6 separate regions of the Homo sapiens genome follow, and regions 1, 2, 4, 5 and 6 are each linked to region 3. Evidence: promoter capture Hi-C in 16 types of primary human blood cells and fetal thymus (Javierre and others, 2016). All regions are on one chromosome and are shown on one strand. The core of a region is centred on a gene start or on the middle of the fragment in contact, and the rest is flanking DNA. Distances in the headings are between cores, read along the strand shown. Region 1 has its middle 43 kb from the start of NUDT7. Region 2 has its middle 50 kb from the start of LINC02131. Region 3 holds the start of CLEC3A (C-type lectin domain family 3 member A). Region 4 overlaps LINC02131 (long intergenic non-protein coding RNA 2131). Region 5 has its middle 3.5 kb from the start of LINC02131. Region 6 has its middle 17 kb from the start of NUDT7.

Evidence for each region. The method cuts DNA at HindIII sites, captures the fragments that hold promoters and counts their contacts. A CHiCAGO score of 5 or more calls a contact.
Region 1: a contact is called between a fragment that was not itself captured here and the fragment with the promoter of CLEC3A in region 3, in 17 of 17 cell types (M0 macrophages, monocytes, M1 macrophages and 14 more). The highest score is 13.9, in M0 macrophages.
Region 2: a fragment that was not itself captured here is called in contact with the fragment with the promoter of CLEC3A in region 3 in 2 of 17 cell types (M2 macrophages and M0 macrophages); the score reaches 5.7 in M2 macrophages.
Region 4: a contact is called between a fragment that was not itself captured here and the fragment with the promoter of CLEC3A in region 3, in 1 of 17 cell types (M0 macrophages). The highest score is 8.1, in M0 macrophages.
Region 5: a contact is called between a fragment that was not itself captured here and the fragment with the promoter of CLEC3A in region 3, in 1 of 17 cell types (M0 macrophages). The highest score is 6.4, in M0 macrophages.
Region 6: a contact is called between a fragment that was not itself captured here and the fragment with the promoter of CLEC3A in region 3, in 1 of 17 cell types (endothelial precursors). The highest score is 5.3, in endothelial precursors.

What each region holds. Positions count from the first base shown.
Region 1 is chr16:77,677,699-77,681,095 of GRCh38, forward strand. No RefSeq gene overlaps it. Among named protein-coding and RNA genes, the nearest start is that of NUDT7, 43 kb to the right of the region's middle. The HindIII fragment of the contact is 9,706 bases long and covers 1-3,397 here.
Region 2 is chr16:77,639,537-77,642,925 of GRCh38, forward strand. No RefSeq gene overlaps it. Among named protein-coding and RNA genes, the nearest start is that of LINC02131, 50 kb to the left of the region's middle. The HindIII fragment of the contact is 6,955 bases long and covers 1-3,389 here.
Region 3 is chr16:78,020,910-78,024,024 of GRCh38, forward strand. CLEC3A (C-type lectin domain family 3 member A) reads left to right here and starts at 1,639. Exons shown (of 3, transcript NM_005752.6): 1 at 1,639-1,832. The coding sequence starts at 1,718. The HindIII fragment of the contact is 14,741 bases long and covers 1-3,115 here.
Region 4 is chr16:77,610,326-77,613,387 of GRCh38, forward strand. LINC02131 (long intergenic non-protein coding RNA 2131) reads left to right here. Exons shown (of 3, transcript NR_184319.1): 3 at 212-353. Among named protein-coding and RNA genes, the nearest start is that of LINC02131, 21 kb to the left of the region's middle. The HindIII fragment of the contact is 4,696 bases long and covers 1-3,062 here.
Region 5 is chr16:77,585,678-77,589,091 of GRCh38, forward strand. No RefSeq gene overlaps it. Among named protein-coding and RNA genes, the nearest start is that of LINC02131, 3.5 kb to the right of the region's middle. The HindIII fragment of the contact is 1,769 bases long and covers 998-2,766 here.
Region 6 is chr16:77,703,870-77,707,400 of GRCh38, forward strand. No RefSeq gene overlaps it. Among named protein-coding and RNA genes, the nearest start is that of NUDT7, 17 kb to the right of the region's middle. The HindIII fragment of the contact is 445 bases long and covers 1,459-1,903 here.

The DNA of each region.
Region 1 (3,397 bases), core at 755-3,254, 340 kb before region 3:
GCGGTGGCTCACGCCTGTAATCCCAGCACTTTGGGAGGCTGAGGCGGGCAGATCACCCGAGGTTAGAGTTCAAGACAAGCCTGGCCAACATGGTGAAACCCCGTCACTATAAAAATACAAAAAACGTAGCCAGGCATGGCGGTGGGCGTCTGTAATCCCAGCTACTTGGGAGGCTGAGGCAAGAGAATCCCTTGAACCCGGGAGCCGGAGGTTGCAGTGAGCTGAGACGGTGCCATCGCACTCCAACCTGGACAACAAGAACGAAATTCTGTCTCAAAAACAAACAAACAGAAGCAAAACAAAACCCTCTGGAACAGACGTAATTTTTATGTTTTCTGACAGAAAATCTGAGGATTAAAAAATGTCAGGTACTCACTGTATTAGATTATTCTCACACTGCTAATAAAGACATACCCGAGACGGGGTAATTTATAAAGAAAGAGGCTTAATTGACTCACAGTTCAGCATGGCTGGGGAGGCCTCAGGAAGTCCACAATCATGGTGGAAGGGAATGCGAACACATCCTTCCTCACGTGGCAGCAGCAAGGAGAAGTGCAGAGTGAGAAGGTGGGAAGAACCACTTATAAAACCATCAGATCTTGTGAGAACTCACTCAATATCATGAGAACAGCATGGAGGTAAGTGCCCCTATGATTCAATTACCTCCCACTGGGTCTCTCTCACGACACGTGGGGATTATGGGAACTACAGTTCAAGATGAGATTTGGGTGGGGACACAGCCAAACCATATCATTCACCAAAAGTTGCAATGATAGTAGGAGATACCAGGCACAGTGGCTCATGCCTGTGATTCCAGCACTTTGGGAGGCCGAGGGGCAAGGATTGCCTGAACCCAGGAGTTCAAGGCCAGCCTGGGCAAGATAAAGAGACCCCATCTCTACTAAAAATACAAAAAATATTAGCAATGCACCTATAGTCCCAGCTACTTGGGAGGCTGAGGCGGGACGATCACCTGAGCCCAGGACATCAAGGCTGTGGTGAGCTGTGATTGTGCCACTGCCACTCCAGCCTGGGAGACAGGAGTGAGACCCTGTCCCAGGAAAAAAAAAAAAAAAAAAGCCTGGCACGGGGACTCACACCTGTAATCCCAATACTTTGGGAGGTGGAGGTGGGTGGATCACTTGAGGCCAGGAGTTCGAGACCACCCCTGGCCGACATGGTGAAACCCCATCTCTACTAAAAATACAAAAATTAGCTGGGCGTGGTGGCACACACCTGTAATGCCAGCTACTCAGGAGGCTGAGGCCGGAGAATCATTTAAAACTGGGAGGCGGAGGTTGCAGTGAGTCGAGATCACACCACTGCACTACAGCCTGGACGACAAAGCGAGATTTGGTCTCAAAAAAACAAACAAACAAACAAAAAAAGGTTGTAACATGTGGTAGAATCAGAACTCAAAACATAGGCGTGGTTGAGACTAGTGACTGTTCTTAATCACTGTGGAAGCCTGGAGCAGAAGACCCAGCTCTCCTAGGAGGTGAAAGGTTAAGTCTGAAATGTCATGCGATGCCTGCTTGGATTCTTGGGAATGATCTGTGCTGATCTTATAAATCTCTCTCCTAGACTTAAATTTCTCTACATACCTTTCAGTCCTTATCCAAGAAAAGTTGGCTTAATACATACAACTAGAATCGAGGCAAATTAGACTCCTTTAAATGCGTCCATAATGTCTGCTTCATGGCTCTTCAAAAAAGACATGCGATCCTGTGAAATGCTAATTTGATACATAACCAAAGGAAAGTAACATGCTCTTGTCTTGGCTAATTCGTAGCTGTTAGTTGAGCAACACCGTTTATTTCCAGGGCTAGCCTTAGATATAGCACAATTATAGAAAAGGGCTGTCAGCACTAATTGCTCCATTGCATGCCCAAAAAGTTCTACAGAATCTGAAATGCTGACAAACAGTCCAGACCCACTGGAAAACATCTGCAAATCATAATCTTTTAATTTCAATGAACATGGTGGAAAGTTTCAGCTTCAATGACTTACTAAATCCCTGAGCCATCTTAAAGTCTTGTGTTCTTTTCTTTCCTAAGCCAAAGAATAAAACAGCTTTGAAAGTTGTGTTTTTTAGAGTGTGGAGCCAAAATGACTGCTATAGTTGTTAATGTTTAAAATGACATTTCAGATATGCCATCTAACCTAAATGAAAATTTTAGAAGGCTATTGATCATTATAAAAATATTTTTAAAGATATAATTTATATACAGTACCATAAAATTCATTTGTTTTAAGTGTACAATTCAATGATTTTTGCAGTAAATTTTCAGTTATGCAACTAGTGCCATAATCCAGTTTTAGAACATTTCCGTTAGCCCAAGGAGGTCCCTTGTGTCAGTTTGAGGTTATATGCCTCATTTCCACCTCCAGTAACCCCTAATCCTCTGTTGCTAAAGTTCTGCTTTTCACGACATTTCACGTCAATGCCACCATAGAAACTGTGTTTGCATCTGGCTTCTTTCACTCAGCATATGTTTTTCAGATTCATCTACATTCTAGCATGTAACAGGGCTTTGTTCCTTTTTTATTCCTGATTAATATTCCTTTTATGGATGCAGTTCATTTTGTTTAAGCATTTACCATTCAATGGATTTGTGATTGTTTCCAGTTTTCAACCATTACAAATAATGTTGCTATGATAATTCATGTCCAAGTCTTCATGTGGACACGTGTTTTCCGTTCCTTTGTGTAGATACATTGTAATAGAATTGCTGGATTATATAGTAAATTTATGTCTAATTTTTAATACTTTGAATTTTATTTATTTATTTTTTTTGAGACTGTGTCTCGCTTTGTTGCCTAGGCTGGAGTGCAGCAGCATGATCACTACTCACTGCAGCCTCACCTTCCAGGGCTCAAGCGATCCTCCCACCTCAGTCTCCAGAGTAACTGAGACTACAGGTGCATGCCACCTCACCCAGCTTTTTTTGTTTTGTTTTGTTTTGTTTAAAGAGATAAGGTTTCCCTATGTTGCCCAGGCTTGTCTCAACCCCCTGAGCTCAAGTAATACTCATGCCTCAGCCTCCCAAAGTGTTGGTATTACAGATGTGAGCCTTTGTGCCAGGCCTGAACTTGTTTTATGTGTAACTTTTTAACAAACTGCCAAACTGTTTTCCAAAGTGGCTGCGCTATTTTACATTCCCAGGCTGGTCTTTATTTATTTATTTATTTATTTTGCAGGAGCGTGGGTAATTTTTTGTAGAGACAGGGTCTTGCTAAGTTGCCCAGGCTGGTCTCAAACTCCTGGGCTCAAGCAATCCTTCCACCTCAGCCTTTCAAAGTGTTGGAATTACAGACGTGAGCCACCGTACCTGGCCTCTCATACTGGTCATTTTTAATAAGACAAATGATTTTCTTAAAAAAAAAAAAGAAAGAA
Region 2 (3,389 bases), core at 571-3,070, 380 kb before region 3:
TGTGGCCTGAAGTCTGGCCTTTGAGAATCATCTGAGCTTTAAACACAGAGCGTTAGTCTCAGTGTCTATGGCAGGCTGCATAACAGCCCCCACAGCAATGTCCACATTCTTATCCCTGCAAGCTGAAAATATGTGAGGTTTTATGGCAAAGGAGAAATAACGTCGCAGATGGCTTACAAGTCGGCTGACCTTAAGATGGAACTGTAGCCTGGGTTTTTCAGGTGGATCCAGTATTATCACCAGAGCCCTTAAATGGGGAGGGGGCAGGCAGAAAAGAATGAGAGATGACAGCATGAGAACTCAGCTGGACACTGCTGGCTTTGAAGATGGAAGAAGGGGCCACAGCTAAGGAATGCAGGCAGCCCCTAAAAACCGAAAATGCAAATAAATACATTCTCCCCTAGAGCCTCCAGGAGGAGGCAGCCCTGCCAACACCTTGATTTTCACCCTGTCAGTCTCATTTTGGACTTCTGACCCCCAAAATTGTAAAATAATAAATATATTTTGTTTTAAGCCACTAAATTTGTGGCAATTTATTACAGCTGCAATCAATAGGAATCTAATACAGGGTCTTTGTGAGCAAATCAGTTTCAAAATATCCTTTTTCACCAAGTGCACGTATTAAGTAAGAGACTATGCACAGGGTCTCCCACCAATGCTAGCTACTTTCTAACAGAGTAGCCACCAATGCTAGCTAACTTATCCCTTCCCTTGGAAATATCACATCCTGGGAGCCTTAAAAATAAAATCACAGTTTAAGTCATTTGTGGTCTGTCCTATTCTCTGACAACATTCAGAAACACTAAAAACAATAAACTGTCTTTTTGGGAGGAAGTCTCAAGCACAGGTCTTATTTTAAAAGCTCCTCAGGTGGTCAGGAGATTGAGACCATCCTGGCTAACATGGTGAAACCCTGTCTCTACTAAAAATACAAAAAAATTAGCCGGGCGCAGGTGGCGGGCACCTGTAGTCCCAGTTACTCAGGAGGCTGAGGAAGGAGAATAGCGTGAACACGGGAAGCAGAGCTTGCAGTGAGCTGAGACAGCACCACTGCACTCTAGCCTGGGTGACAGAGCGAAACTGTCTCAATAATAAAAACAAAAAAACGCACCTCAGGTAATTCTAAGGTGTGATAAGGATTGGAAACACCCACAGGAAAGCTGCTAAAGAGTCCTTTGACAGCACAGGTGGGAATGCCTCAGTCTAGCCGAGACCAGAGTCCAGTCTCCCTTTCTTCTGACCCTACAGTTATCTCTATCAAGCCCACAACGTGGCTTCCCAGGTCCTTCTCCTAGATACACTGGTTTTTTAATTTTGTTTCTCATTGCAGAAAGCTCTTATCAAAAGAAAGCGGAGTCACAAGTCCAACAGATAAGAGATGAAAATGGGATTTGAAAGCCTAGAACCCGTCTGATGCATTCCACATCTCCTCTGAACCAAGTTAAAGAGTTGCAATTATTGACTCTGTCAACCAGAGAGCTGGGCTGGAGTTGAGTAACCTAATGTAGCTTGTCCCAAACCATATGCCACAAACCACCACAGCCTCAAGACATTCACAGGTGTTGTCTGGAAAAACAACAAGAGTGAGGATCCCATGGTCAAATACACCATCCCTGCTCTCCCACTCTTGGCTAGAGGCTCTAAGATGCCCTGCAGTTTTAAAAAATGTTAAATCTAATACTTCCTAAAGCTATTTGACCAAGTAACCTTTTTTAAATTTCAATGGGTTTTTGTGGAACAGGTGGTATTTGGTTACATTACTGTTATTTAGGGGTGATTTCTGAGATTCTGGTGAACCTATCACCCGAGCAGTATACACTGTACAGAATGTGTGGTCTTTTATCCTTCATCCCCCTCCCGCCCTTTCCTTAAGTCCCCAAAGTCCATTATATCATTCTTAATCCTTTGCATCCTCATAGCTTAGCTCCCACTTATGAGGGAGAACATACAACGTATTATTTTCCATTCCTGAGTTACTTTGCTTAGAATAATGGTCTCCACTTCTATCCAGGTTGCTGTGAATGCAGTTATTTCACCAAGAAACAATTTTTGTAAGGAGCATCTGTCATTCAGGAGACCCAGTTTGGAAATTCCAATTCCTTCTTTTAAAGATGAGAAATGAGGGTTTAGAGGGGACATAATTTGTCTACAAGCACTGAATCACAGTCTGCCAACGCCTCGTGCATCTCCTTGGCCCGTGGAAGCTCCCCAGGCCCTGATTGTCTCCAGCATGCTGGCAGCTTTCCCCTCCAATGCCTATATTTCCAGTCACTGTCAGAATTTCCTCGGGTTCCCTGGATACTTGCTGTGGGAAAGGGGAACGATTAGAGTTGGTGCATAAACGCACTGGTTTTCCCATCCTCATGGTGGCTGTGCCCTACGTAGATTCTCAGAGGGTCTCCAGTGGGAGTGAGTCCTGGTTGTCCACTGCAGAAAGTCTGCTCATGAGTGCCTCACTGATTGGCTTTCCTCCTTTTCCTCCTTTTCCTGCCCCTAACTCTACTTCCTCACCTGTTTTTTCTGGATCCACTTCCTAATAAATTAACCACACACGAGTCCTTGTCTCAAGGCCTGCTTTGGGAGGAAACCTAAACAAAGAGTTACTTACAATCCAAGTTAAGAACAGTGACCTAGATGTAAGGCCCTGTTCAGACACTAAATAAATGATTTGGTTTTTATAAATGAAATCAGATTCTAGCTTAAGATTCCAAGTTTTAAACAGCCATAGACATTTCCTCCTGAGACAAAGAGCTGAATTCTACTGTCAAAATCCAGAGTTTCAGCTTTTTCTTCCTTCTAACCCCTAAAAAAAAACAAAGAAAGAAGGCTGTGTTAGAGACAAGACGTTTTGCCTTATCTTCAGAAGGTAAGAAGGGCTTCTCCACCGTGTGCCCTTTGGTGAAAGGTCACAGTCAAAAAATGTCATGGCTTGGCGCGGTGGCTCTTGCCTGTAATCTCAGCACTTTGGGAGGCCGAGGTGGGATCACTTGAGGTCAGGAGTTCAGGACCAGCCTGGCCAACATGGTGAAACCCTACCTCTACTAAAAATACAAAATGAGCTGAGCGAGGGGGCACGTGGCGCGTGCCATAATCCCAGTTACTAGGGAGGCTGAGGCAGGAGAATCGCTTGAACATGGGAGGCAGAGGTTGCAGTGAGCCGAGATCACACCATTGCACTCCAGCCTGGGCAACAAGAGCAAAATTCTGTCTCAAAAAAAAACAAAACAAAACAAAACAAAACAAAACAAAACAAAAAAAACAAAAACACTATGTCATGTTGCCAGAATTTTCTTTCAGACCTAAGAAGGAAACAGAAATGCTTAAGAAAGTTGAACTCAGGAATTTCTCAACAGGATGCACATCTGAGGTGGCTCGCGCTACCAATTTAA
Region 3 (3,115 bases), core at 389-2,888:
GAAATAGACTGTGGTTTTTCTCATTAAGATTCAGAAGGAAGCACTCATTCCTTGATTCTTTCTGTATTGTCTCAAAGAAAAAACAAAGGCAAAATGAACTTGGTCCTTCAGACCTTCCAAATCTGCAACCACTGCCCTCCATTTGCACCTGGTCAGCCAAATAAGCATGTGGAATGCAGGAAGGCCTTTCCCTGGGTCTAAATTCCTCCCTCTCGGCTATTCCTGTAATGCAAGTCCATTGCTTTTGATGCAAAAGCCTATCAGGTCCCGAAAACTTGCCCTTAAAGCCTATGGTTAAAGGTAGGAATAATTGAGTTTCTCATTACATTAATTTTATTTTTATTTTTTATTTGAGAAGGAGTCTGGCTCCGTCGCCCAGGCTGGAGTGCTGTGACAAAATCCCGGCTCACTGCAACTTCTGCCTTGTGAGTTCAAGCGATTCTCCTGCCTCAGCCTCCAGAGTAGCTGGGACTACAGACTCCTGCCACCACGCCCAACTAATCTTTTTGCGTTTTTTAGTAGAGACAGGGTTTCCTCATGTTGGCCAGGCTGGTCTCGAACTCCTGACCTCAAGTGATCCACACACCTCAGCGTCCCAAAGTGCCGGGATTACAGGCGTGAGCCACCACGCCCGGCGAGTCTCTCACTAGGTTTCTGTGCTATTACATCATGCACTTGAAAGTGTTGTTTAATGTGTTCAAGGAAAAATGATTGGTGAGGACCTGAAAAAATAGCTATTGATCTATTACATTAATTCTTATTCTAATGGAAATAATTCACTTTTTAAAATTTTCTTTTCACTGTAAGGTACATTTTCCCAAGAAAGTAATTTGCCCGGGCTGGAGGGCAGTGATCTCGAACTCCTGGGGCTCAGGTGATTCTCACACCTCAACCTCCCAGGTAGCTGGCATTACAAATGTGTGCCACCATGCCTGATGAATTTTTTTATTTTTTTGTAGAGATGGTGTTTCGCCATGTTGCCCGTGCTCTTCTCGAACTCCTGACCTCAAGGGATCCACCCACTTCGGCCTCCCACTGGGACTACAGGTGTGAGCCACCACATGCAGCCCCAAGGAAGTAATTCTTGATGAGTCTACAAAATCCTAATGGAGGAAAGCCCTATATTTTATCATCGAGTATCTATTTCCGCAATCTCCATAAATCCCACTGAGAAAACTACTTCCAAGCTACACTTGAGCTGCGCAGACACATGAGTATGAGTAGACACACTGGCTTGAATGGTGCTGTGGCACCACACACACACACACACGCAGTAACTTTCCTTTTTCTCCAATTTTTTTTTTGCCCTGAAAACTAAATTGAATCCATTTTCCAGAACATTTAGTGAATTTCAGAGTTCCAAATCAAAGAATTTTTCACAAAGACCCCAATCTTCTCAGAGTTTAAATTTAAAAAAAGAAAGCAGGCTAAACCTGTAGTTAAGTTTGACACACTCCAAAAAGGCAAATCACTAGGAAATGCAGCAGAAATTAAATAAATAGAAAGCCTAACATGAGGCACAAGAACAAGAGGCCACCTTATGCTGTGGCCAGCAGAGGCATTCAAACATTCCGTCAGCAGGATTCCAGCCAACCTCCGAAGCTCACTTTTATAAGCCAGCCCCAGGCATCCCAGAGCAAGATGTAGCTGTGTAGTCTCCTTCCATAGCTGCTCTAAGGGGGCTGGCAACATGGCTCAGCAGGCTTGCCCCAGAGCCATGGCAAAGAATGGACTTGTAATTTGCATCCTGGTGATCACCTTACTCCTGGACCAGACCACCAGCCACACATCCAGATTAAAAGCCAGGAAGCACAGCAAACGTCGAGTGAGAGGTAATGGGGCTTCTCAATCAAGCAAAATTCTAGGCTTAGACAGTGTGGGGAGGTGCTGGACAATGTTAATTTTCAAACTCCTCCAGGAGACTATCTTCGGTGATGGCACCATGCCATCATCCCTATATGGCATTTCAGGGGATTAAGTGAACTTGTAATGCTCTGGGATAGTTTATTTTAAAGAAACCAGGCTGCTGGGTTTTAAAAAAAAACAACAGGGAAAAAATTTGATAGTAAAAGAATTCTGTGTTGTATATTTTTTGTTAGGTGGGCTTAAATAGAATGTGCTTCAGAGGAAGCTCAAGTGGATTTCTGAAAATCTGGTGTTATTAATATGGGGCAAGAAGAATGTATTAACTGAGCACACTGTTTCACTAGTAGATATTGAGTAACTCAATTCAGTTATATTTTAAGATAACTATAATCTTATTCAATGTGTAGCAGAGGATAGAGATTTTGGTAATGGTGACTTCCTGTTTTGTCATTAGTTATCATTAGCTGTATTTCCATATCCTTGGCAGCATAAGGACAACCTATACCATATATTTAAACTTTTTCATGTCAGAGACATTGAATCTCTCCAACTTAAAAAAGTCAATATGCAAAGTCATCTAGTATTTGAAGGCATTGTGATGCAAAACTGAATCTCCCAGGAACCTCAAATTTTGAGTGACTTGAATTGGGTTAACAGGTTAAAGAAATTGAAAAGAACAATGATGATAGCGAGGTGTTTGCAATACGTTGAAACCTAAGCAAAAGAAAAAAACAAGACAGAGGGTCATGTTTTATCACATCCTCTGCATCATTTTCATTTCAGGATATTTCAGATTATGACTATTTCCTTATTTTCACTCCATTAGTAACAACACACACATACACAAATTTCAGCAAGGTTACAGTCTATTTCACATGACAGATGGCTGGTGGGTAAAAAGGGGTCTTGTGCTTTAAGGATTATAAAGTACCATTTTTTCAGGGACATTTATTTACAAAATTTAGGTCTGGTGCAAGGTTTCTTTTTTTTTTTTTTTTCTGAGACAGAGTCTCGCTCTGTCGCCCAGGCTGGAGGGCAGTGACACAATCTTGGCTCACTACAAGCTCCACCTCCTGGGTTCACGCCATTCTCCTGCCTCAGCCTCCCAAGTAGCTAGGACTACAGGCGCCTGCCACCACGCTCGACTAATTTTTTGTATTTTTAGTAGAGACGAGGTTTCGCCGTGTTAGCCAGGATGGTCTCGATCTCCTGACCTCGTGATTCGTCAGCCTCGGCCTCCCAAAGTGCT
Region 4 (3,062 bases), core at 414-2,913, 410 kb before region 3:
CTGTAATGGGTAGCACAAGGGAGATCTTCATGGTGACGAAATATTAATAGTCCTGTGTCTCGACTGTGGTGGTGGTTATACAAATACACACGTACATGTAATAAAACCAAATGTCTACACACACATACCCAAGTGCACATAAATCAGGTAAAACTGATGGCTGAAGTTCTGTGATGGTACCAACGTCAATTTCTTGCCTTTGATATTGTAGTAGAGTGATACAAGATGTGACCGTTGAAGAATGCTGGATGAAAGGCGACTGCCTTCATGGAACCCGTATGGACTCCGTGTATATTTTTTGGGTAATTTCCTATGACTCAGTAATTATTTCAAAATAAAAATGTTTAAAAAGTGAAGTCACTATGACTCCATCTTCATTTTCACCTCCAGATATTCATGACCTCCACTGGCCCACTGGAAGTTCCCTCTCTCATTCTTAGACAAGTAAGCCTTCATTTCATCTATAGCATTTCAATGGGATTTTTGGAGGTAGAGGAAGCAAATTCTTACATTCATGTGTGTACACTCAGCAGTCAACGCATACTTTTTTTTTTTTTTTTTGAGATGGAGTCTCACTCTGTCATTCAGGCTGGAGTACAGTGGTGTGATCTTGGCTCACTGCAACCTCTGCCTCCCGGGTTCAAGCAATTCTCCTGCCTCAGCCTCCCAAGTAGCTGGGATTACAGGTGCCCACTACCACACCTGGCTAATTTTTGTATTTTTAGTAGAGATGGAATTTCACCATGTTGGCCGGGCTGGTCTCAAACTCCTGACCTCAAGTGATCCGCCTGCCTCGGCCTCCCAAGGTACGGGATTACAGGCATGAACCACCCCACCCGGCCCATACATTTCTTTCGAATTAAGAGAAGCATGAGGTCTTAAATCACAGTTTCAATTAAAAGCCCAATTTATAAAGAACAAGATTTCTTTAAAAGTAATCTACATTTAGTGATATGTTATTCAAATATTACCTATTCCCTTATGAATTCTAAATACTTTCCTTGAAATAAAGTAGGAAGCATTAAACATGTATAGGCTTCTTGTATGTCAGTCTTACCTCAAAAAAGCAGTTAAAATATTAAATAATACCACCATTGAGTAAACATACACACACATACAAAGAGGGTATTATATCAGAAGTCTACATAGTAGGATCATGCTGACTAATTATACTGCAAAATTTTCCCATATTACTAAGCATGTCAGCACAAGTCGGATCTGTGCCCTTGACTTTTGCTAATAATGTTCTGAAGAAGCATTCACATTGCAATAGTTGCTGCATATGCTATGGACGTCTTTTAAAGGAATTTTCCCATAGATTACTCAATATCTCCTCTGTGATATCACTTCATAAATTTCCTTTAGAGCAGTGGTTCTCAAATCATGGTCCATAGACCAGCAGCATCAGTATCACCAGGGAATGTGCCAGAAATACAAATTCCCAGGCTACAATGATTCAGACACTCTACGGATAGGACCTAGAAATCTGTTTTAATAGGTCCTCTAGGAGACTACCAGGCAAACTGGAGTTTGAAAACTACAACTTTAAGACATAGTCATGGGTTCTCTATTTTGGAAGTGGCTACAATAGAGAAACTTTTTTTTTAATGACTTAAAATACAAGAAAAGAATGTGGTGGCTCACACCTGTAATCCCAGCACTTTGGAAGGCTGAAGAGGGTGGACATTTGAGCTCAGAGACCAGCCTGGGAGTTCGAGACCAGCCTGGGAACCATGACAAAACCATGTCTCTAGAAAAAAAATACAAAAATTAGCCAGGCATGGTGGCATGCATCTGTAGTCCCAGTTACTCAGCAGGCTGAGGTGGGAGGCTTGAGTCCAAGAAGTGGAGGCTGCAGTGAGCCAAGATCTTGCCACTGTACTCCAGCCTGGGTGACAGAGCGAGACTCTGTCTCAATTAAAAATAAGAAGAAAAAATATGTAGTGATGGGGGAAAATCCCTGATAAAAGTATTTTTATTCTAATTTTCTGCTACTGGGAGCTTTGTGAATTTTAAATTCTTTTTTGGGTCAGGGGAGGTAGGATGCTCAGAGCCAAATTGGAAGCTCAGTCACAGTAAATATATTAACCCAGAGAGTTAGCATATGGATTTCCTCCTCCTTTCCTTGCCCCCATTTCTTATTTTTATTTTATTGGATTTTGTTCCTTTGGGAAAAGTATAAAGTTATAAATATAGTCAATAAATTTTGAAACTGCTTAACAGTGGCAATGTGCTTTTGTATGCTGCCACATGTTCTGAGTATGAAATACAGATCATGATGACCATGCAGATGTTACCAGATATTAAATTGTTTCGCAAATAGATTACAGAGCATGAAAATCCAAATACTGCCTAGAGAAAATATTTTCACGTGTAATTCCCAGGGATATTCTTACAAAATAGAATTGTTATTGCCTTTTTGTTTAAATGTAAGAGGAAGGATTTGGGCTTAGATTTATTATATTAGTATATTAACCACCACTATTGTTCTTTTGGCTTCTTGCCTTTGGGTGATGTTTTCTTGTGGAGAATTATTTTCTGTTTCCATCATCTTGAAATAATGTGTATTTCAATTGTCTTTTTCTTTTCCCTGAGCCAACAGACCAATAAAATTCCCATTTGAAAAGATTCTTCTAAAATATTATACATAACGAACAAAACACTAGGACTGCTGTTAAGTTTCACTATTCCCATGAATGTGTCAGATCTGGGGGTGTTTTTTCTGTGATACATTCTCATGTACCATTTAAAACAATATGGTCAAAAAATACTCTCTTAAAAATTAAATGAATAACCACAACCATCATCAATAATCAATAAATGTTTCTTGAGCAACGTTTCAGTTGTTTCTTTTTTTAAGTCTGAACTTTGGAGGACAGAAAAAGTGTGTATCACATCCACTGAAGACTGACTAGCATAGACTGATTATGTTTCCATTGGAACCTACTGTTGCAGACTCCTTCCAATCTGCCTGACTCATTCCTGGAGGCCTGATCTAATCATGCTCTAGGGCCTGGTCGCAACCAGGCCTTTGACAACTTCTGGGTCCTGTTCTGAAACAG
Region 5 (3,414 bases), core at 632-3,131, 430 kb before region 3:
TCCTGAAAGATCCCAATGAGTGATTGTGATCAGCTCCCCGAACCCTTTCAGCTAATTGGCCCCAAAAAAAAAAGAGGTTCGGGAGTGGAATTCGTGTGACGTGGTCCAGTCTTGGCTTTCGCCGTTACTAGCAGTTATTTCCTGCATCGAAAGGGGAAGCTGAAAGGATATTTATGTTGGTGACAAAAGGCCTCAGACTGGTGCTAGGTAAAAGTAAATTGGGGTGGAAGTGAGGATCATCAGGAGAGTTACTGTAAGGGACCTGCACTCATCCCAGAGCAGAACACGTGCCAAGATCCCTTCACTTGTGGATCAGTCTAAGTGTCTTTGTTTCTAGAGAAGGCAAAAGATTCTAGCTGACTCATTTCCCACCTACTGTGCTGTCCTGACTCATTTCCCACCTGGCATCGGTTTCTCAGATGAGATCCTCTTGTTGACATCTGATTGGATTTTCCTTGGCATTACTCTAGGAAAGAATCCTACACATTAATACTGAGTAAGTGCCCAGGTTGGGGGTAGAAATCAAGTGTGGCAATTTACTGGTGAGGAGAGATCAGAGGTGAAAAGGCTCAATGCAGAGCGAAAAAACCTGGGGTGAGCCATGGAAGAGGGAGCTATAGGCCTGTATCACCCTTGAGCAAGGGACTTAACAAGCGTCAGTTTCTTAATCTATAGAATGGGCTTAATATTCACACAGCAGAGCCCTGTGATGAAAAGTAAAATTATTCTCTTCCTTTGGAATTTTATAAGAATGCACATTGAAATCACCTATGAAAAGTACTTTCCACATACTTGACACTTAATGGCTACTCAGAAAATGGTATTTTATCTCTGTAATGATCCAGGGTGGCAAACATTGTTGAACCTGTTTTAGGAAGGCAGCTCAGTAAAACTTTTTAAAGATCACACATCTAGTAAGTGTTTGGGTTTGAGGGGGCATGAAATTCAGTTCCAGATCTAAAGCTTATAGCCTTCCCAATGAGGGCAGAGATCCTAAAGCTTCTGTGGGTATCACAATCTCTTGTGAGGCTGCTTAAAAGTGAACATTTTGGCCAGGAACAGTGGGGCTCATGCCTGTAATCCCTACACTTTGGGAGGCTGAGGCTGGCAGATTGCTTGAGTCCAGGAGTTCGAGACCAACCTGAGGAACATGGTGAAACCTCGTTTCTACAAAACATACAAAAAATTAGACAGGCATAGTGGCATGTGCCTGTAGTTTCAGCTACTGGGGCTGGACTGCTTGAACCAGGAGATTGAACCAGCATCCGACCTGGATGTCTGAGTTTTAGGAATGGTGTCTTCCTCCCATGTAGGGAGACACCTCTATAGGGGCCAGTGACCCTGGGTCTGCACAGCTGTCATGTCTGGGGTCCTGGTTACCTAATTTGGCAAGTGCCCTCAGGTGGCCCTGACACAAAGCGCCTGTTAACCATGACAAACCTCGAGTCTGATAGTCTTGTTTCTCTGCCTTCTCCAGGCGTTGGGACCACAGTACAGCCTGTTCTCCTTCAGCACTTGGATCCTAAGGGATGCACTTCCCTTGCAAAGGAGGAAAGAAATCACTTCTGGGAGCCACTCCCATCACCAGCTCATCTGCCTCCCACACCCTGCAAGGAGCTCTTTAGTCATTTGTCCATAGTAATCCTCTGTGGAAGACAACTGTGCCCCCCGGCCCGCCACCCCAGGGGATCTGGCAATATGTGCAGACATTTTTGGCTATCACAAGTAAGAGGTGAGTGCTACTGATGGTGATCTACAGATCACAGCGAAGAACACTGCTAAACATCTTACGCTGCACTGGGTGAGCCCTCCCCACTGCCCAACAAAGAATTATCCGATGTCAATTATCAGCAGTGACCAAGGTTATGAAACCCAGAATGAGAGATTCATCCAATCTTTAGTTCTTCTGCTAGAAAGCCAATGTCTCCAAAAGTATTTCCTCAAGAGGCAAGATAAGGAAGCATTCAAATATTTGTAAAACAAGGCAGAGGAAAGGAAAATGGCAGGTGTTCATTGATTCTCTATACATACGTTGTTGCATTTTACATGTGCATTTGGTTGCTTTTTTGGCTTTGTTTTCATTTACATCAGCCCCTGTGAGATGGGGACTTTTATTACCTCCATACTACAGAAGGGGAAATGGATACCCCTCTGGATAAAGCAACCTTTCAAAATCACGGGCTGGGATTCAAACCCTGGGCTTCCTGACTCTGAACCTGGTGCCCCTTTCTGAATTCCACAAACCATCTTAGATCAGCCGGGGAGGAAATGGAACAGTCAAGTCTGATAATAGGAGGAGGCAGGGTCCTTCTATGCTTCCCCTTTCAGTGTCTTGCCTGGGAAATGTAAATAATTTAGAGCACAGGGGCCGGAGGGATAATTACCCTGTCTGGTTTCAGAGGCCACCCAGATGGGTGTTAAGGACGAGCTGGAACTCACAACCCCCTCCCCACCACCCATGCCCTACGCTCACCTCTCTCCCTCTAACCCGCGTGCTTTCAGACTCTTGCCGTTCCAGGGCTTAGAGCCCCCTCTCATTCACAAGTCCTGCCCTTTCACCAGGGAAAAGGCAAAAGGTCAAGATATTTGGCAACCAAGTCCCTCAAGTAAAGAAACAGCATTACAGGCTGAGTAAAATGGTATGAAGGCAACACTCAATCAACATGTGTGTTTTTGATGCCTACTGTATGCAAGTCTCTATGCCAAGAACACTGAGGACAGGGAGGTTGAGATAGAGTATTCATCCCCCTCCCATTCATCACAAAAAGCTTTACCGAGCATATAGATTATGCTCATCCCAGTGCTAGGCTCTGATGTACCAGGAGAAATAAAACAGGATCCCTGACCTCAAAAGGCCTGTGGTCTCATAAAAGTGCTAGTTAAGACACACACTGATAGCAGGATGGAGAATGCATAGTCAATGACCTGTGTGTTTGATGGATGGATGGATGAATGAATAAACGAAGTGGTATTAAACAAGGGATGAGTACCATTCCAAAAGTGCAGTTAAAGTGTTGGGGAAGGGTGCAGAAGTGAGTGAAATATGACCTGCAACCAGGAAAAATTTATGGGATGGATTGGCCTTTAGGCTTAACAAGATTTACACACGGGCATGAGAAGAGCTACATCCTGGAAGAGGAGAATTAGTCAAAATTTTGGGGGGTAAATACCTTTTCAGACTGGAGGGAGAAATTTTTCCAGAGGTCAAAGCTGTCTGGGAAGACAGATGGGACAGGTACTCTAACCCTTGTCCAGGTACTCAACACAGAGGAGATTGTATCTGGAGGCCTTCTTATATTATCTCACTAAGACTCATGAGAACCAGCAGGTATGTGCTCTTAAGAAACGCATTTAACAGAGGAAGAAGCTGAAACTACCCACCTACAACTCCAGAAGGTAAGTGGTAGAGCCCAG
Region 6 (3,531 bases), core at 431-2,930, 320 kb before region 3:
TTCTGGAAACTGCATTTTACTAAGTCCCTTACATCAACACTATTCAGTAAAAATGTAAATGTAATATGCCATATAATTGCAGGCCACATATGTGACTTTAAATTTTCTAGTAGCCGCATGTAGAAGAAAAATAAAGAAAAACAGAAGAAATCTTAATATATTTAGTTTCATCTCATGTATTATTTTAACATGTAATTAATTATTAACAATTTCTGTCTTCAAAATTTGGTATGCATTTTATATTTAAAGCATGCCTGAATTCATACTAGCCATATTTCTAGTGCACAGTTTTTATTATTGCATGAGATTTCTCTTTCTTGTTCAATTTTGTGAAAGTTGTGTTTGCCTTGACTTCCACTGCTTAAGTTTAAACAGCTCAAAGCCCAACAGTGTACTCTCATTTGCTCAAACTTCCCTCTCCAGGCTTGGAACAGGAGATCTAAGTCCCAATCCCAATTCTGTCTATTAAACTTTCTGAACTTGGACATGTTGCCATTTCATTGTCAATGTCCCAATTTCCCCATCAGAAGTTGAGTTACTTATACTAGATGTCTGAAGATCATTCTCTACTCTCCTGATGCTAATAAATTGTCTGACTTTTTGTTTCAAGAAAAGGGTATTTTTTTTTCCTTTTATTGTCTTGTGATGCTTCTGAGAGAGGTGAAGTTGATGCATGGAGGACTTACTCAGCATTCCCCATTCCCTAGCCCTCTGCCCACCCAACTATCTTTGAAAATTCCTAGCCTCTGAATTTTCAGGGAGGTTGATTTGAGTAATAAACTCCCATCTTCCATGTGGCTAACCCTGCATTAATTAAACTCTTTTTCTGCTGCAATACCTCTGTCTCAGTGAATTGGTTTTATCTGTGCAGTGGGCAAGAAGAACTTCTGGGCAATCACAAGAAGGCAGCCATTTCAAATAAAAGGGAAAAAAGTTTTCACAGGTTAAGTGGTTTTGCCAAAGTCATGCAAGGTTAGTGGCTTCCAAAACCAAGATTAGAGCCCACATTTATCAGGGCTCTTAGCAGAGACCATCACCATAACCTCTTGTAACAGACACTTGGTTCTCGTGGGTGATGGAAAGCATGGTCTCAGCTCTGGAAGGATTTCTGAAATGGGAAAAGGAAGTGTTTTTCTCAGCAATCCATTAGTGAGATACATTCTTCAACAATGTAGGAAGTTGTTGGAATAACTTAAAGAAGGAGCTCATTGCCATTATTTCCTTTGGCCTTTATAAAGGGCTCGCCAAGGTATTACTGGTTCTGGGGGATGTCTGGGTTAAACGGCTTTTGTTCTAATACATCTGATGGTACAGCTTAAACGCAAAAGGAAAGCAAAATGGCGCTGCTTCAGAATTTAAGCAATAACCCAGAGTAAAAACAAGCAGGAAAGCACCAAGCTCTTATGTGTTCACGTAACATCACTAGGTGCCATTTCCCTCCTGGAAAAAATCTCGAGAAGCTTCCCAAACGCGCAACATGAGAAAGGTTATTAAAGCATTTATTCTAAGATGACTTTTTAATTGCAAAATGATAACATCCCAGCATCTCTGCCTCACTGAGTTGAGGGAAATATTTAGAAACTGTTTGTGTGCCCTAAGAGAAAGGCTGGTACATAATTGCAAATTATTACCACTTCTGCAGGTCATGCTGACAAGATTATCTCTCAGCGGGCTGACAATCAGAAACCTGCTTCTAGTCGGGTGGTTTTTCACAGCTGGTAACCTTTTTCTTTTTTCCTGGATGGAACGGAAATTAACATTGTATGCCTGCTCCTTTCACTTTAGTGGGCCATTTATCATATTAAAGCCCATTGGTCTAGGTACCAGCCTCACCAACTTAGGTAAACAGAGTTCTAGGAGGAACCGACAGATGTTAGCAAGACAAGTAATCACAGAACAACAAAGCTTCATTGCCACAGCTGTTACATAAACAGTTTTCAAAAACATGGCAACTAGGAGGCAATTTAAGGAGAGAATCTTCAGGGGATGCTTACAATGCTGGTAATGCTTAGATTGCAATGGAGGCTTAAATCTCCAATTTTGTAATATGACTGAAAAGGCCCAGCATGATCTGGCCCTTCCCACATCTCTATGCCCCAGTGCCTCCCCGCTGCCTGCAGCCACCTGTTGTCCCTTTGGGTCCTCCAATGCTCTGAGCTCCTTTGCACCTTGGGACTTCATGTGTACTTCTCTCCTTCATTTAACAGAACTCCATTTAAATTCTACTTTCTTAGAATCTACTCATTCTCAATTAGCCCCCTCCCTTTATACTCTTAGAGGTTTCTGTATTTTCTCCCCTTCTTGATACCTATTGAAAGTTATTTCACTTTACTGTTTTTTGTTTTTTTTTTTGACTCAGGGTCTTGCTCTGTCACCCACGCTTGAGTGCAGTGGCGCAGTCACAGCTTACTACAGCCTCGAACTCTGCGACTCCACTGAGCCTTTTGCCTCAGCCTCCCGAGTAGCTGGCACTACAGGATAATTTTTTTTGTATTTTTTTGTGAAGAGAGGGGTCTCGGCCAGGTGCTGTGGCTCACACCTGTAATCCCAGCACTTTGGGAGGCTGAGGCGGGCGGATCATGAGGTCAGGATTCAAGACCAACCTGGCCTAGATGGTGAAACCCCATCTCTACTAAAAATGCAAAAATTAGCTGGGTGTGGTGGCGTGTGCCTGTAATCCCAGCTACTCGGGAGGCTGAGGCAGAGAATTGCTTGAACCCGGGAGGCAGAGGTTGCCATGAGCCGAGATCCACACCACTGCATTCCAGCCTGGACGACAGAGTGAGACTCCAACTCGAAGAAAAAAAAAAGAGAGAGAGAGAGACGGGGGGTCTCACTATGCTGCCCAGGCTGGCCCCAAACTCTTGGGCTCAAGTGATTCTCCCACCTTGGTCACCTCGTGCTGGGATTACAGGCATGAGCTACCATGCCCAACCCCTACTAAAATGTAAAGTTATATATTTATTTCCTTGATTATCAGTTTATGTGTCTGTGTCATTAGAACATAAGTCATGTGGTGGAAGAGATCAGGTCTGCTTGATCATTCTATCTCCAGTGTCCCATATGTAGTTTGCACTATTACTTGTTGAATGAATATGGAGAGTTCTCCATTTTATGGATGATTCCAATTATTTCTCACCACACCTCTCGAGTCCCTTGACATAGGTATCGTCACCCCATTTTACAAAAAAGGAAATGGATTGGTGGTGACACAATTTGCCCAAGATCATGTAGCCAGTGCATAGTGGGGTGAATTGCAAATTCAAGTAGAACATGAAAACCTGTGGTTTTCCTTCGTAGCATCTTCTAAATACTTGTTTGGCCTATAATATCAGAACTTTGGGAGGCTGAGGTGGGAGAATCAGTTAAGGATAGGAGTTCAAGAGCAGCCTGGGCAACATAGTGAGACCTTGTTTCCACAAAAAATTTTAAAAAGTTAATGAGGTGTAGTGGCGCACAACTGTAGTCACAGCTACTCGGGAGGCTGAGGCAGGAGAATCACCTGAGCCCAGGATTTTGAGACTGCAGTGA